Regions from separate parts of the Homo sapiens genome. Here all the other regions are linked to region 1. Evidence: promoter capture Hi-C in human tissues and cell types (Jung and others, 2019). All regions are on one chromosome and are shown on one strand. The core of a region is centred on a gene start or on the middle of the fragment in contact, and the rest is flanking DNA. Distances in the headings are between cores, read along the strand shown.

What was found. Contacts are between HindIII fragments. The study calls those that stand out against the background at their distance.
Region 2: a contact is called between the fragment with the promoter of AXIN1 here and the fragment with the promoter of MPG in region 1, in 6 of the 25 tissues and cell types used here (H1 embryonic stem cells, bladder, dorsolateral prefrontal cortex and 3 more).
Region 3: the fragment with the promoter of DECR2 here is called in contact with the fragment with the promoter of MPG in region 1 in 1 of the 25 tissues and cell types used here (spleen).

The regions. Positions count from the first base shown.
Region 1 is chr16:76,586-81,010 of GRCh38, forward strand. MPG (N-methylpurine DNA glycosylase) reads left to right here and starts at 1,640. Exons shown (of 4, transcript NM_001015052.3): 1 at 1,640-1,748; 2 at 2,840-3,115. The coding sequence starts at 1,725. RefSeq lists a silencer at 1,221-1,910 and an enhancer at 1,425-1,719. The HindIII fragment of the contact is 15,400 bases long and covers 1-4,425 here.
Region 2 is chr16:350,414-354,735 of GRCh38, forward strand. It overlaps AXIN1 (axin 1), which reads right to left and starts at 2,310. Exons shown (of 11, transcript NM_003502.4): 1 at 1,956-2,310. RefSeq lists silencers at 1,529-1,588, 1,599-1,668, 1,689-1,738, 2,019-2,098, 2,199-2,678 and 1 more. The HindIII fragment of the contact is 14,202 bases long and covers 1-4,322 here.
Region 3 is chr16:398,718-403,398 of GRCh38, forward strand. It overlaps DECR2 (2,4-dienoyl-CoA reductase 2), which reads left to right and starts at 3,168. Exons shown (of 9, transcript NM_020664.4): 1 at 3,168-3,326. The coding sequence starts at 3,247. It overlaps NME4 (NME/NM23 nucleoside diphosphate kinase 4), which reads left to right. Exons shown (of 5, transcript NM_005009.3): 2 at 273-406; 3 at 662-763; 4 at 910-1,022; 5 at 1,502-2,037. The coding sequence ends at 1,625. RefSeq lists enhancers at 392-977, 1,991-2,300, 2,148-2,733. The HindIII fragment of the contact is 11,138 bases long and covers 1,935-4,681 here.

The DNA.
Region 1 (4,425 bases), core at 390-2,889:
TGTATCACTTGTAACATCAGAATAAATATAAGTACAAAGTAACACCCATCCTCTCCCTGCCCATCAAGAGGACAAAGGCTCAACTGGGGCCTCAGTTTCCCTACTAGACTGAGGGGGAGCACTCGGGGGGATGGGGGGCTGTTCCCACAGGAAGGAGAGACTCATTGTTTGGGAGGCATGGCTGCAGATAAGCAGGGAGGGTGTGGAATCACATCCAGGGCTGCTTTATAAACACGGATTGATGACACATTATGCCCCCACCCCGGGAAGCGGCACACAGTGCTACAAACAGCTGGTGGCTTCCAGCCGGCTGATGGCCCCTCCCTCCCCAGGAAGTCCTGGCTGGGGCCCATGGGGGTGGGACGGCTGGTCAGAGGAGGAGAGGCAGTTGGAGACCAGGTCCTGCCCTGTTAGCCTTTCTGTAGGACCAGGTGTCACACTCATCTGAGGGCTCCAGACACATGGCCTGTGCGTCTGTCCTGCCCAGCGTCTCCCACCTGACGCGGCCAGGTGCCCAGTTGCTCTTCAAGGCCTTTTCAGGTGCTCCTTTCCAGGACCAGGGTCACAGAAGTCAAAGCTCAGGAAAAGCCCCTCGAGGGTTTTTGTGCGGCAGAGGTGGGTTGTGGGGTGGGATTGTGCCTGCCACAGTGGAGGGGCCCTGCAGACCCAGATAAACCTTCAAGTGGCCAGAAGCGGGGGATGGCTCTGCTGGGTGCTGGGGCTGCCATGGGCCGTGGGAGCCAGCAGTGTGCCCAGCTCCCTCAGGGCCCGTCCCCTAGGCCCTTCCGTCCACTGGGCCAAGCACCGTCCCTGCCCCTCCCTAGGGGCATGGATCTGACTTGAGAGGTTGTGAGAGCTTACAGGCGCTGGGCCGTCGGGGAGGCCTCAGAAGCGTAGGACGGCTGCGCACTGCCGGGCCGTGTTCAGCCCTGGTCTGGCCTCGGCCTCTAGAGGAGGCTGCCTGCGCTCCAGCAGGCCCAACCCAGAACGTGGGCGAGCTCCCTTCAGCATCCCTGGGCGGAAAGAGGGATGGGGGCTCTGCTGCAGAGGCAGAATCCGCGCCGCTCCCTCCTTCCTTCCCCCGACCAGCCTGTGACAACCCCGGCCAGGGGCGGGGGCCTCCGCACAAGCCTGGCGTCCACTTCCTGGATAAGGACTCCCCGGCCCACTCCGGACCAGGGCTGGGGCGGCCTCCCAGGCGCTCACTCCGCTGGCACCCCACCGGAAAACACGTCTGCGGCCCGCCCCCTCCCCCAAAGCACGACCACTCCGCCCGGGCCCCTCGAGGATCCACTCAGGTTCACGACGGGCCCGTCCTCTCGGTGGTCTGACCACCGGCTGGTGGAGTGGGCTCTGGGGCCGCCAGGCGACCAGGGCGCAGGCGGGGGCGGACAGCTCATTGGGAGGGGCGCCGGGGCACAGTGCGGGGCTCGCCCCACCCCCAGGTGCCCCTTCCCCGCTCTCGCCTCGCAGGCACCGCATCGGGCCCGGGAATCGGTCCGGACCTGGCGGTGGGCGCTGGGAAGAGGATCCACCTCCACGTGGCCCGCCCCGCCCCGGGGGCGCAGCCAGTTCCCGGCGCTCACTGCCCCCCTTCTCCCGGCTTCCGTCCCCTTCTGCGCAGGCGCCGCTCCGCCCCGGTCCTAGGGGTGCTTCCGTGGTCGGCGGCTGCTGGGCTCCGCGCCGGGGTCCGAGTCCCACGAAGCCCCGGCCCGAGCCGCCGGATGCCCGCGCGCAGCGGGGCCCAGGTGAGCGCGCGCCTCGGCCGCCCCGCGGAACAGACGCGCCCACCCCCAGGCGCAGCAGCGAGCGCGGCCGCGGGAGCGGGAGTGCCGGGGACGGGCGTAGCGCCCACCGCCCCGAGGGTTCGGGGCAGAGCCAGAGCATAGGCCAAGGGCCAAGCTCGGGCCGAGAGCAGTGGCCGCAGCGCCCGGGGGCTGAACCCACGGCGCGCTGGCAGCGCGGGCCGAGCTGCGGAGACGGTCACGTCAGCGTCCGTTCCAGGCCGACTGGCAGTCTCCGTTCTACATTAACGTCAGCACTCCCGTTAAAAATAATGCATCTCTCCCATGCCAGGAGGACTTAGGTGCTGCTAAAGACCAGCCCTCCGGGTGCTGCCAGGCCGGCGCTCACCCGCCACCTTCATCTTCCCTTCTCCTTTGCCCCAGGACAGCCGAGGATGTGTGGTTAGGTTCCCCCTACCCATGGGGAGGCCAGAGGTGGGAGGCTGGCGGCCTGCTCGGTCTCAGCAGACCCTCCTAGTCCCTCAGGAGACCTTGCCTTTGCCCCACTTGCTCGTTATCCAGCCTGGGCCATGAAGCAGAGGACAGTTAGGGACCCTGAGCACGCGGTGGTCACCCCGGTGCTCACCCCTCCCTGTGTGTCCGACCTTGGCCCTGCTAAGATCCTGTGTTTTGAATTCTGGCAAGGGTTGGATGAAAGGGCAGGGCTCCAGAAACCAGCTCAGACGTTTGCTTGGGACCTGCATGATGAGTGGGAATCGGAGGGCACCAGCCCTGCTGTCCCAGGCTCAGGCCCCCATCTGCTCCCCAGGTCATGCAGCCTGGGCCCCCATGCCGTGCAGCTCGCACATATGTGGGGCAGAGCAGCCACCCTGCCCCCAGCAGCAGCCGTCCATCGTCAGACGTGATCATTTCCTGAGGCCTCGAGTGTGTCAGGGTGTTTGTGCCTCATAACAACCCACAGGATGGTCACCCCCGCTTTGCAGATGAAGAAACCAAAGCAGGTGGTCAGATCCAGTCCTTGCACTTCCTGAGCCTGACCTTACCACACAGCTGTCTCCTATTCGGATGCTTATTTATTTTTTTTCCCATTACAGTTTTGCCGACGGATGGGGCAAAAGAAGCAGCGACCAGCTAGAGCAGGGCAGCCACACAGCTCGTCCGACGCAGCCCAGGCACCTGCAGAGCAGCCACACAGCTCGTCCGATGCAGCCCAGGCACCTTGCCCCAGGGAGCGCTGCTTGGGACCGCCCACCACTCCGGGCCCATACCGCAGCATCTATTTCTCAAGCCCAAAGGGCCACCTTACCCGACTGGGGTTGGAGTTCTTCGACCAGCCGGCAGTCCCCCTGGCCCGGGCATTTCTGGGACAGGTAATGTGAACATAGCAGCGAGGGCCCTCCTGAAGTGCCTGTCACTGCAGTTGTCCCTGAACCCCTGTCCGCTGCCTGCTGGATTGGCCCTCAGTTAGTCCTCCTTGTCCTCATGCATTTAGCGGCTTTGCTCACACTGGTCCCTGCTTAGCTTCATCTCAGTTGCCTGAGGTCATCTGGGAAGAATGTAGAGATTGTCAGTGCTGCTTGCCCAGGGTGGAGCAGGGGTGCCACTGTCTGCCCCCGGCTCTGGGCATCTAGGGCAGGAGCACTTGCACCGTTAGCCTTCCTCACCGGCAATCCACCTCAGTTTTTCCACACGTGGGAACTGTGGCTGTGGCCAGTGTCGGGCTGCCCCTTCCCGCTGTAGTGGCTCACAGTGCAGTGCTGGCTTCCCAGGGCCCCTGCAGCTTAATGTAGGTCAAGGATCTGGGCTCTGCCAATCAGACTTGGAGTAAGAAGCAGGGACTGCCCAGGTCCCATCCTGGTGGGGCCTACGGTGCAGCCTGTCCCCACGAGCAGATGCTCACACAGCCGTGGCATCTTGGCTGGATCTGTTGGGAGCGAGGTGGTGGCGGTGGTCCTCGATGCCAAAGCCCCAGGCCTGCCTTTCTGGTTCTCCAGAGGCTCCAAGGCCTTCCCTTTGTCCTTTAATGAGCCTACTTTTAGGTTATAATCACCAAGAAGAACCAGAAGAGAAATACCAGTGCCAGGAGTTGGGTGCTAAAGGAGCAGACCCTAGAATGTGGGCTCGACCTCATGGAGAACAGAGAACATTCTGTCCCCATGCGGATCCTTCTAAAAGCACCTTAAGTAATGGGCATTTGTGGCCAGGTGTGGTGGCTCATGCCGGTAATCCCAGCACTTTGGGAGGCGGAGGTGGGTGGATCACGAGGTCAGGAGTTTGAGACCAGCCTGACCAACATGGTGAAACCCCATCTCTACTAAAAATACAAAAATTAGCTGGGTGTGATGACGGGCGCCTCTAATCTCAGCTACTTGGGAGGCTGAGGCAGGAGAATCACTTGAACCCGGGAGGCAGAGGTTGCAGAGAGCTGAGATCACGCCATTGCACTCCGGCCTGGGCGACAGGGCGAGACTCCGTCTCAAAAATAAAAAAAAAATACAATGGGCATTTGTGATACAACAAAACAGCACGTGTGGCAGGTGCGTCGTAGGAACAGGGCAAGGGCGCAGCATGGCATCAGGGACCACAATACGTTTGTCTCTATTCAGCATCCTTGTCAGGCCACAGTCATGCCCACTTGAGCCCATTGGTGGACAAGATGATGTCCAGCAGAGAAGAGGGT
Region 2 (4,322 bases), core at 1,060-3,559, 270 kb after region 1:
TCCATAAAACGGGCGGGATGCCTACAAGTATGATACTGTATTTAAAATTCCCTTTCGTCACCGCTTAGGCATATGCTCCAGGCATCATGGCAGCAAACTCAATGCTACCTACGTGTGTAGGTATTTATTTTACCCAAACGTAACTTTTGACATTTTGATTTACATGGAGGAGGCAAGTAACACAACACGACTCTGACATCTTCCCAGCTGTCCATTGATTTAACTCTTGAAGGTTCAGGGCTACTATTTCACATGTAATTTATTCCCCCATCACTGAAATTCTCAATGACCAATGTAATCCGAAAAAGTCTGCTTAGCTTTTCTGAAACTAGAAACCCAAGACAAGTCAACACCAGCTGAAAATCAAACAAAAACAGTCTGTTTTTCATGCTTTCCCATCCTTGTCCCTGAATGGAGATCTTAAAACTGAAACCAAAGCCAGGTGAGGTGGCTCACGCCTGTAATCCCAGCACTTTGGGAGGCCGAGGTGGGCGGATCACCTGAGGTCGGGAGTTCAAGACCATCCTGACCCACATACAGAAACCCCATCTCTACTAAAAATACAAAATTAGTCAGGCTTGGTGGCGCATGCCTATAATCCCAGCTACTTGGGAAGGCTGAGGCAGGAGAATCGCTTGAACCTGGGAGGCGGAGGATGCGGTGAGCGGAGATCACGCCATTGGACTCCAGCCTGGGCAACAAGAGCAAAACTCTGTCTCAAAAAAAAAAAAAAACTGAAACCGAGCTATTGCTGAGTATCTCGGGTAGCCGGTTTAGACTGTGTTTTCTCCAAAATAGGGCCTGTGGATCCAAGTAAGCTCGAGATTCTTCCTGAAGAAGCAGAGAACAGAAGTGTGAGCAAAAACAAGGGGCTGACATGCACATAAGAACCCTTTATAAATTATCTTAGAAGGGGCCAGGCGCGGTGGCTCACGCCTGTAATCCCAACACTTTGGTAGGCCAAAGTGGGCAGATCACCTGAGGTCAGGAGTTCCAGGCCAGCCTGGTCAACATGGTGAAACCCTGTCTCTACTAAAAATACAAAAATTAGCCGGATGTGGTGGCGCATGCCTGTTATCCCAGCTACTCAGGCGGCTGAGGCAGGAAAACTGCTTGAACCCGGGAGGCGGAGGTTGCAGTGAGCCAAGATAGCGCCACTGCACTCCAGCCTGGGCTACAGTGCGAGACTCCGTCTCAAAAAAAAAAAATTATCTTAGAGGACGGTGGTCACCCCTGTAGTCCCAACACCTTGGAAGGCTGAGGCAGGTGGATCGCTTGAGGCCAAGAATTCAACACCTGCTGGGCAATATAGTGACACCCCATCTCTACAAAAAATATATATATATATATCTTATAGATGGGCTGAGAAAAATCCCCAGAGAACTGACATGTTTTTCTCTACTTTCTTCAATGCCAAGCTGAAAGTTTCACTGCTCGGGCAGTGCAGCTCTGGTTTCACGGGGGCTAAATTCCAAAGTGCGGGGCGGGGGTAGAATCTAAGAACCACACCCAAGAGAAAGACCAGTGTTTGGGCAGCAAGGCATCAACCTGGAGGGTACGGACGCCGGAGCACGCGGCTACTCAGGCCGAACCCCGACCCGGACCCGGCACGCGGCCTCGGCGAGGGCGGGCGGGAGTGTCCTCCTCCGGGACAGCCGGACTCCCGCCGACTTCTGGGCGGCGGGGAGGGCTCCAGGCCCGGCTCTCCCGGGCCCCCGCACGCGATGCGCGGCCCCTGCAGCTGCTCCGTGCCCCGAGACGCGCCCGAGGCCTCGGACCTCCAAGCGGCCACCGCGCCGCCAGTCCCGCTGCCCAGGGACACCCCGGCCCCAGCTCCCCGCGCGCCCACCCCCTCGGTCCCACGCGCGTCAGCCACCCGCGCCCCCCGCCGCTTCCGGGTCCCGCCCGCCCGGCCTACCGCGGCCTAGCCCGCCCCGGAGCCCGGCCCTACTCACCCGCGCGCGGTGGTGGCGGGACCCCGGGCCCGGCTCCCGGAGCGGCGCGGCGCGGTCCGGGCCCATGCGCTCAGCGGCAGCGCGGCGGGCGGGACCCGGCGGGGGCGCGGCCCGGGGCGGCCCCCATCTCGGCGGCTGCGGCTCGGCGGCCCGGAGGCGGACGCGGGGCAGGCCGCGGGGGCGCCGCAGGGGCCCAGCCGCCAGCTCCCACCCGCCCGCTCCGCGTGGACGCGGCTCCGGGCCGACTCCGGCCGGCTCTGGCGGCGGCAGCGGCCACGATCGCCTCCCGAGCCAGAGCCCGAGCCAGAGCGCCGAAGCCCAGGCCCGAGCGCCCCCGCCGGCGGCGTCCGGAAGTGCGGGGGCGGGGCCGGGGCGCGGGGACGAGGTGAGAGCGCGGGGCGGGGCCTCAACACGGGGCGGGGCCGGCAGCGCGGGGACGAGGTAAAGGGTGTGGGGCGGGGCTTCAGGCGCGGGGCGGGGCTGAAAGCGCGAGGATAAAGTGAGGAGCGTGGGGCGGGGCCGACAGCGAGGGGACAGGTGAGGAGCGCGGGGCGGGGCCGGGGCGTGGGCGGGGCCGGAAGCGAGAAGACGAGGTGAAGAGCTCGGGGCGGGGCCTCGGGCGTGGGGCGGGGACCAGGGAGTAAGGCGGGGCCCGCCTCGAGCAGAAGAGGTAAAGAGCGTGGGGCGGGGCCTCCGGCGCGGGGCGGGGCCGGAAGCGAGAAGACGAGTTGAGAAACATGGGCCGGGGTCTCTGCATGGCCGGGAGAGGGCGTGGTCAGTGCCTGCCGGGGGCGGGGCGTGCCGGGGGCGCGGTCGCGCCGTCTTCCCGAGGGGCGGTGCGGAAGCGGAGCCCGGGAGGCTTTGGCTTCCCAGAGAGCGGAGTGGGAGAGGCGGCGTTGCAGGTCCTTGGAATGGCCGCGGCCGTGGGGAGCACTGGGCGGACTGCGCGCCCCGAAGGGCGCACGTGGGGCGCAGCCCTTTTCTGCCGCCAGTACATCGGAGGGCAGTCAGGGGGCTGCAGGCCTCGGGGCTCCCTGCCCAGCCGGCCCTGGAGAGGAGGCCCTCGTGGGGACCGCCACGGCCTGCCCGCCGCCGTGAGGGAAGCAGGCTCCCAGGAGTGGGGTGGTCGGCAGGCAGGGATGGCCAGGGCCCTTGGAAGGTGGGGTGGGCTCCACCCTCCTGAGTCCCAAGGCAGCCTGGACTCACAGCGCCAGGGAACACGTTAGGCCCCAATATATGGTGGCTCTCACCCGGACAGGAGCCACAACCTCCAAAGAGCCCACCGGCTAGGACCCTCTGCCTTGATTTCTCCCAGGCACCATCTAGTATCAGAGAAGGGTTCTCCTTCCCTCCGCTGCCCAGGCCAGCCCGAGAGCAAGGCCATTGGAGTGTCCAGACCCCTGCACCCCTTCCCCTGGGCTGTCTCCACAGCGGCCCTGCCAAGGGGTCCAGTCCGATCCTGCCACCCTGGCTGCCCAGATCCGTGTCACTTGCCCTGCAGGCCACAGAGCATGAGGTCACAGCCCCAGGCACCCCACGGCAGAGAGGCACGGGCCCCCAGCAGCAGCCCCAGCACCAGCTCTGGCCAGCCCAACCCTGTCAGAACCAACCCTCTGCTCTCCACCCAGGCCTCAGCCAACCATCAGGCCCTCCCCAAGGAGGAGGATGTGAGTACCAGGATCTGCCGCCTCCCACAACAGCCCAGGGCCCTGTCCTTCCCAGAGCACTATTGGGCCTGGCACCTCCCGGGATGCTCCAGGCAGCCCCCTGGGGTCAGCTATACCCCCGTTTCACAGAGGAGACAGCTGCAGTTCAGGCCACACAGGACCAGCTCGCCTCCTGTTGGGTGAGGGCTCCCCACCTCGTCCGCCCCACACCTGAGACAACAGCCCTCATCTATCTGCCCTCTGCTTTAGGCCTCCCAGGGCTCCCTGCTGCCCACAGCCCTTCAGGGCCCTTCCTAAGGGCGCCTCCCCCACACCTTCCCCTAGATGCGTCTGGCCACTTGCCCGCCTCCGTGCTTCCGTGTCCATCATGTCCATACCTGCCAGCTCCCTCCAGGCACCTCTCACGTCACCCCCATGTCTTTCCCTGGGCTGTGTCACCCTGGATGCCCAGCCTCACCCTTCAGAGCTCCCAGGCAAGCACAGAAGTCCCAGCTCCAGGCTCCCCGAGCTTCCAGCCTACCCCCAACCAGATGCCCACAGGTGGGACTGCATGGGGAACCATGTGTGGAAGCCTCCCAGCCCTCGCCCCTGCCAGCACTCAGCATGGTGTCTGATGCCAGCATCGCTGTGTGGGAAAGGGGGTAGCATGGGACAAGGGCCACTAGGCTGTCCCCAGCCTGCCAAGGGCCCAGGCCCACCT
Region 3 (4,681 bases), core at 1,918-4,417, 320 kb after region 1:
GCGATCTCAGGCAGCCTCTGCCTCTGCTGGGAGGAGCCATGGCCCCTGGGAGAGGCTAGAAGCCCTGGGGACACATTGCCTTGGGTGTCCCTGACAGGGACTATCATGGGGGTGTTTGTGGCTGTGGGCACCATCCCTGTCCCTTCCAGAGTGCCCTGCATAGAGGCAGACACCCTGAAGCCTGGTGACCCCTGGGCTCTGGCTGGGAAACCCGGGTCGTGGGGACGTGAAAGGGTGAGGTGGCAGTGCCTCTGACCTCTTGCCTTTTGAAGGAGGGCCCTCCTGGACCCGGGAGCGGACCCTGGTGGCGGTGAAGCCCGATGGCGTGCAACGGCGGCTCGTTGGGGACGTGATCCAGCGCTTTGAGAGGCGGGGCTTCACGCTGGTGGGGATGAAGATGCTGCAGGTAGTGGGACTCTGGGCTTGTGGGTGTCCCTGTGGGGATGGGGTTGGGGGATCCTTCTCGGCCTTTCACATCCCAGCCAGCGCCGGGGCAGGGCCTGGCTTTGGCAGTTGAAGGGGCAGGAGGGATCTATTCTGCGGTGGGGGTGCTGCCCATGCTGGTGTTATCTGCAAGGTGCCTGAGGTCAGGGCATCACAGCTGCTGTGCTAGTGCCCACGTTTACTGTCTGCGGCTCCTCCTTACCTCAATGCCACCCAGGCACCAGAGAGCGTCCTTGCCGAGCACTACCAGGACCTGCGGAGGAAGCCCTTCTACCCTGCCCTCATCCGCTACATGAGCTCTGGGCCTGTGGTGGCCATGGTACGGCAGGGCAGGGGTGGTGGAAGGGCCTGTGGGTAAAGGGCGTGTGGGTGTGTCTTTCCCCCCAGCAAAGGGAGGGGCCCTGGATTGAGCCCAGGGGCCCTTGGTGTTCCCCACTTCTCCCCAACCATTATCTCTCGCTGCAGGTCTGGGAAGGGTACAATGTCGTCCGCGCCTCGAGGGCCATGATTGGACACACCGACTCGGCTGAGGCTGCCCCAGGAACCATAAGGGGTGACTTCAGCGTCCACATCAGCAGGTACGGGGGTCCTGATACACCAGGCTGCTGCTGGGGGCAAGGAGGGCCATCACTTGGGGTGGTGGCAGATCCACGAGACCTGGCTGTCTTGCTGTGCTAGGATGAAGCCAGGTCGGACATGACAGCTCACACTGGTGAGAGCCGTGTTCTCCCAGGGCACACAGGGCAATGAGGTGTTCCCTTTGTGTTGTGTGTACCGTGCCATCGTTGCCTGTTACCTGACACCCCAAGGGGTTGGCACGGGGCAACTTGGGGGGAAATGAGGCTCCCAAAAGCTGGGGCCTGGGCGGGTCCACGAGGCTGTAAGAGGCCGAGGCCAGGCTGGAACCCGGTTTCCCAGCTCCACTGTTACTCCTTCCCTGTCTGCAGTCACAGGCTTGCTCCCCTAGACAGAGGGCAACGGGAGCAGCAGATGGTCCCTGGGATTCCTCAGGGTGCACATGAAGCCTGAGCCTCACATTGCTCCTGTCCTGGCACAGGAATGTCATCCACGCCAGCGACTCCGTGGAGGGGGCCCAGCGGGAGATCCAGCTGTGGTTCCAGAGCAGTGAGCTGGTGAGCTGGGCAGACGGGGGCCAGCACAGCAGCATCCACCCAGCCTGAGGCTCAAGCTGCCCTTACCACCCCATCCCCCACGCAGGACCAACTACCTCCGTCAGCAAGAACCCAAGCCCACATCCAAACCTGCCTGTCCCAAACCACTTACTTCCCTGTTCACCTCTGCCCCACCCCAGCCCAGAGGAGTTTGAGCCACCAACTTCAGTGCCTTTCTGTACCCCAAGCCAGCACAAGATTGGACCAATCCTTTTTGCACCAAAGTGCCGGACAACCTTTGTGGTGGGGGGGGGTCTTCACATTATCATAACCTCTCCTCTAAAGGGGAGGCATTAAAATTCACTGTGCCCAGCACATGGGTGGTACACTAATTATGACTTCCCCCAGCTCTGAGGTAGAAATGACGCCTTTATGCAAGTTGTAAGGAGTTGAACAGTAAAGAGGAAGTTTTGCACACCCAGTTCCATAACGTTGTTGGATGTATGAGCCAGGCAGGGGTCCAGAGACCACCAGCCTGCAATCCGGAGAACCCAAGCTAGGCGCGAGCCGGTGCTGTGATCCCGCCAAAGGAGAAGCTGCCTTCCCGGGGAAGGGGCAGAGAGGGGCCGGCGGGCTGAGGCCAACCAGCGCAGAAAGGGCCTGGCAGCCATTACTGTAGCGCTGGCGGCTCTGTCACGCCCCTGAAGCCGCTGGCCCGCGGGTGTGTTCAGCTCAGGAGCGGCCCTGCGTGTTTTTCCCCCGTGGCCGTCGCGGACCCCCGTCTTCCAACAGTGGTGCGGGCGGGGCGCCCCGTCCTGGGTTCGCGGCATAGCCCCGCCCGGGCCCCCACGCGGAACAGAAGTAACGGACCCTTTTTTTTTTGTTTTTGTTTTTGAAACGGAGTGTCGCTCTGTCGCCCAGGATAGAGTGCAGTGGCGCGATCTCGGCTCACTGCAACCTCCGCCTCCCGGGTTCAAGCGATTCTCCTGCCTCAGCCTCCCGAGTAGATGGAACTACAGGCACCCGCCACAATGCCCGGCTAATTTTTGTATTTTTAGTAAAGAGGGGGTTTCGCCATGTTGTCCAGGATGGTCTCGAACTCCTGACCTCGTGATCCGCCCGCCTCGGCCTCCCAAAGTGTTGGGATTACAGGCGTGAGCCACCGCGCCCGGCCCCGGACCCTTCTTTATTGGCCTCAAAACGGGTCATTTTGGGAAGCGGCGCGGGGCTGGCCGCGCTTCCCTGGGCCCCGGCCCTCCCCATGGTGTTTACGGGGAGGCGAACGGGGAGCCCAGAGGCTGCGAGCCTGGCCTGGACCCAGGAGCCAGGGGTATCCCACAAGTCCTGGAGGCTCTGAACGCGGCGCTGACGCCGAATACCTGTGAAAAAGACTCGGGGAGGAGACCCGCAGACCGCCGAGCTTCTGCCGCGGGAACCGCGCCCCCGGCCCCGCAATGCGCCTGCGCCTCGCGCGCCGACTTCCAGTCCCAGCAGGCCGCGGGCGGGGGCGGGGCCTCCGGGGAGAATTCGGGGGAGGGGCGGGGCCTCCGGGAAGCAATCAGGGCAGGGGCGGGGCGTCCGGGGAGTGGGGCGGGGCTCCCGGTTCCAGGCGAGTTCGCAGCTGCGCGCCGGGTCCTGGAGGCCGAGGCCGCTCCCGCCCGTTGTCCCCGCAGTCCCCGACGGGAGCGCCATGGCCCAGCCGCCGCCCGACGTGGAGGGGGACGACTGTCTCCCCGCGTACCGCCACCTCTTCTGCCCGGACCTGCTGCGGTGAGCGGGGCCTGGGAAGCGAGCGCAGCCTTGGTGCGGGGTCCGGTCCGCGGGCGCCGGCGCCCCCACGTGGTCCCCGAGGGCTCGCGTGTTAGGAAACCTGTCTTGCCTGGCTCCTTTCTTTCTTTTTTCTTTCTTTTTTTTTTTTTGAGACGGAATCTCGCTGTGTCGCCCAGGCTGGAGTGCAGTGGCACGATCTCCGCTCACTGCAAACTCTGCCTCCCGGGTTCAAGCGATTCTCCTGCCTCAGCCCGGCTAATTTTTATTTTTAGTAGAGAGGGGGTGTCACCGTGTTGGTCAGGCTCTTTTCGAACTCCTGACCTCAGGTGATCCACCCGCCTCGGCTTCCCAAAGTGCTGGGATTTACAGGCGTGAGCCACCGCGCCCGGCCCAACCTGGCCTCTTTCTTAACAGAAAATTTTAGGTTGAAATCATTTTTCCGGAAGACCCAGAAGGCCCAGGAATGCCAGGTTTTGCCCAGCAGCTCTTCATTTTCCTGCAAACGCCTTGGTGTTCACAAGAGAAGGCAGCCCGGGCAAAGGTCGATCCTCCCCGGTCACCTGCCCTCACTCGGCTAATGGGCGGATCCTTTTTTTTTTTTCCTTTTCTTTTTTTCAATTGGCAACATTTTCAAGTTTCTATTAAAATTTTGATCTTTTGCCAGGAGCAGTGGCTCACGCCTGTAATCCCAGCTCTTTGGGAGGCCGAAGCGGGTAGATCACCAGAGGTCAGGAGTTCGAGACCAGCCTGGCCAACATGGTGAAACCCCGTCTCTGCTAAAAATACAAAAAATTAGCCGGGTGTGGTGGCGCACACCTGTAATCCCAACTACTTGGGAGGCTGAGGCAGGAGAATCACTTGAACTCGGGAGGTGGAGGTTGCAGTGAGCCGAGATCGCACCATTGCACTGGGCAACAAGAGTGAAACTCCATCTCAAAAAAAGAAAACAAGTTTTAAATTATGTTCTCCAAGGACAGGTATTGACAATTCTCTCTGAGTGTTCTGCAGGAAAAAAAAAAAGTTTTTTTTCGAAACGGAGTCTCATTCTGGGTTGAAGCAATTCTCCTGCCTCAGCCTCCCAATTCTCCTGCTTCAGCCTCAGTGCGCCCAAGTGGGACTATAGGCACACAATACCACGCTGGGCTAATTGTATTTCTAGTAGAGGTGAGTGTCACCATGTTGGTCAGGCTGGTCTGGAACTCCTGACCTCAGATGATCCACCTGCCTCGGCCTCCCAAAGTGCTGGGATGACAGGAGTGAGACGCTGCACCTGGCCCAAAATTAATCTTTAATAATTAAGAATAGGAAAGGCAACTTGGAGATCAGCAAAAGTTTGCCATCCATCTGGTACAGTT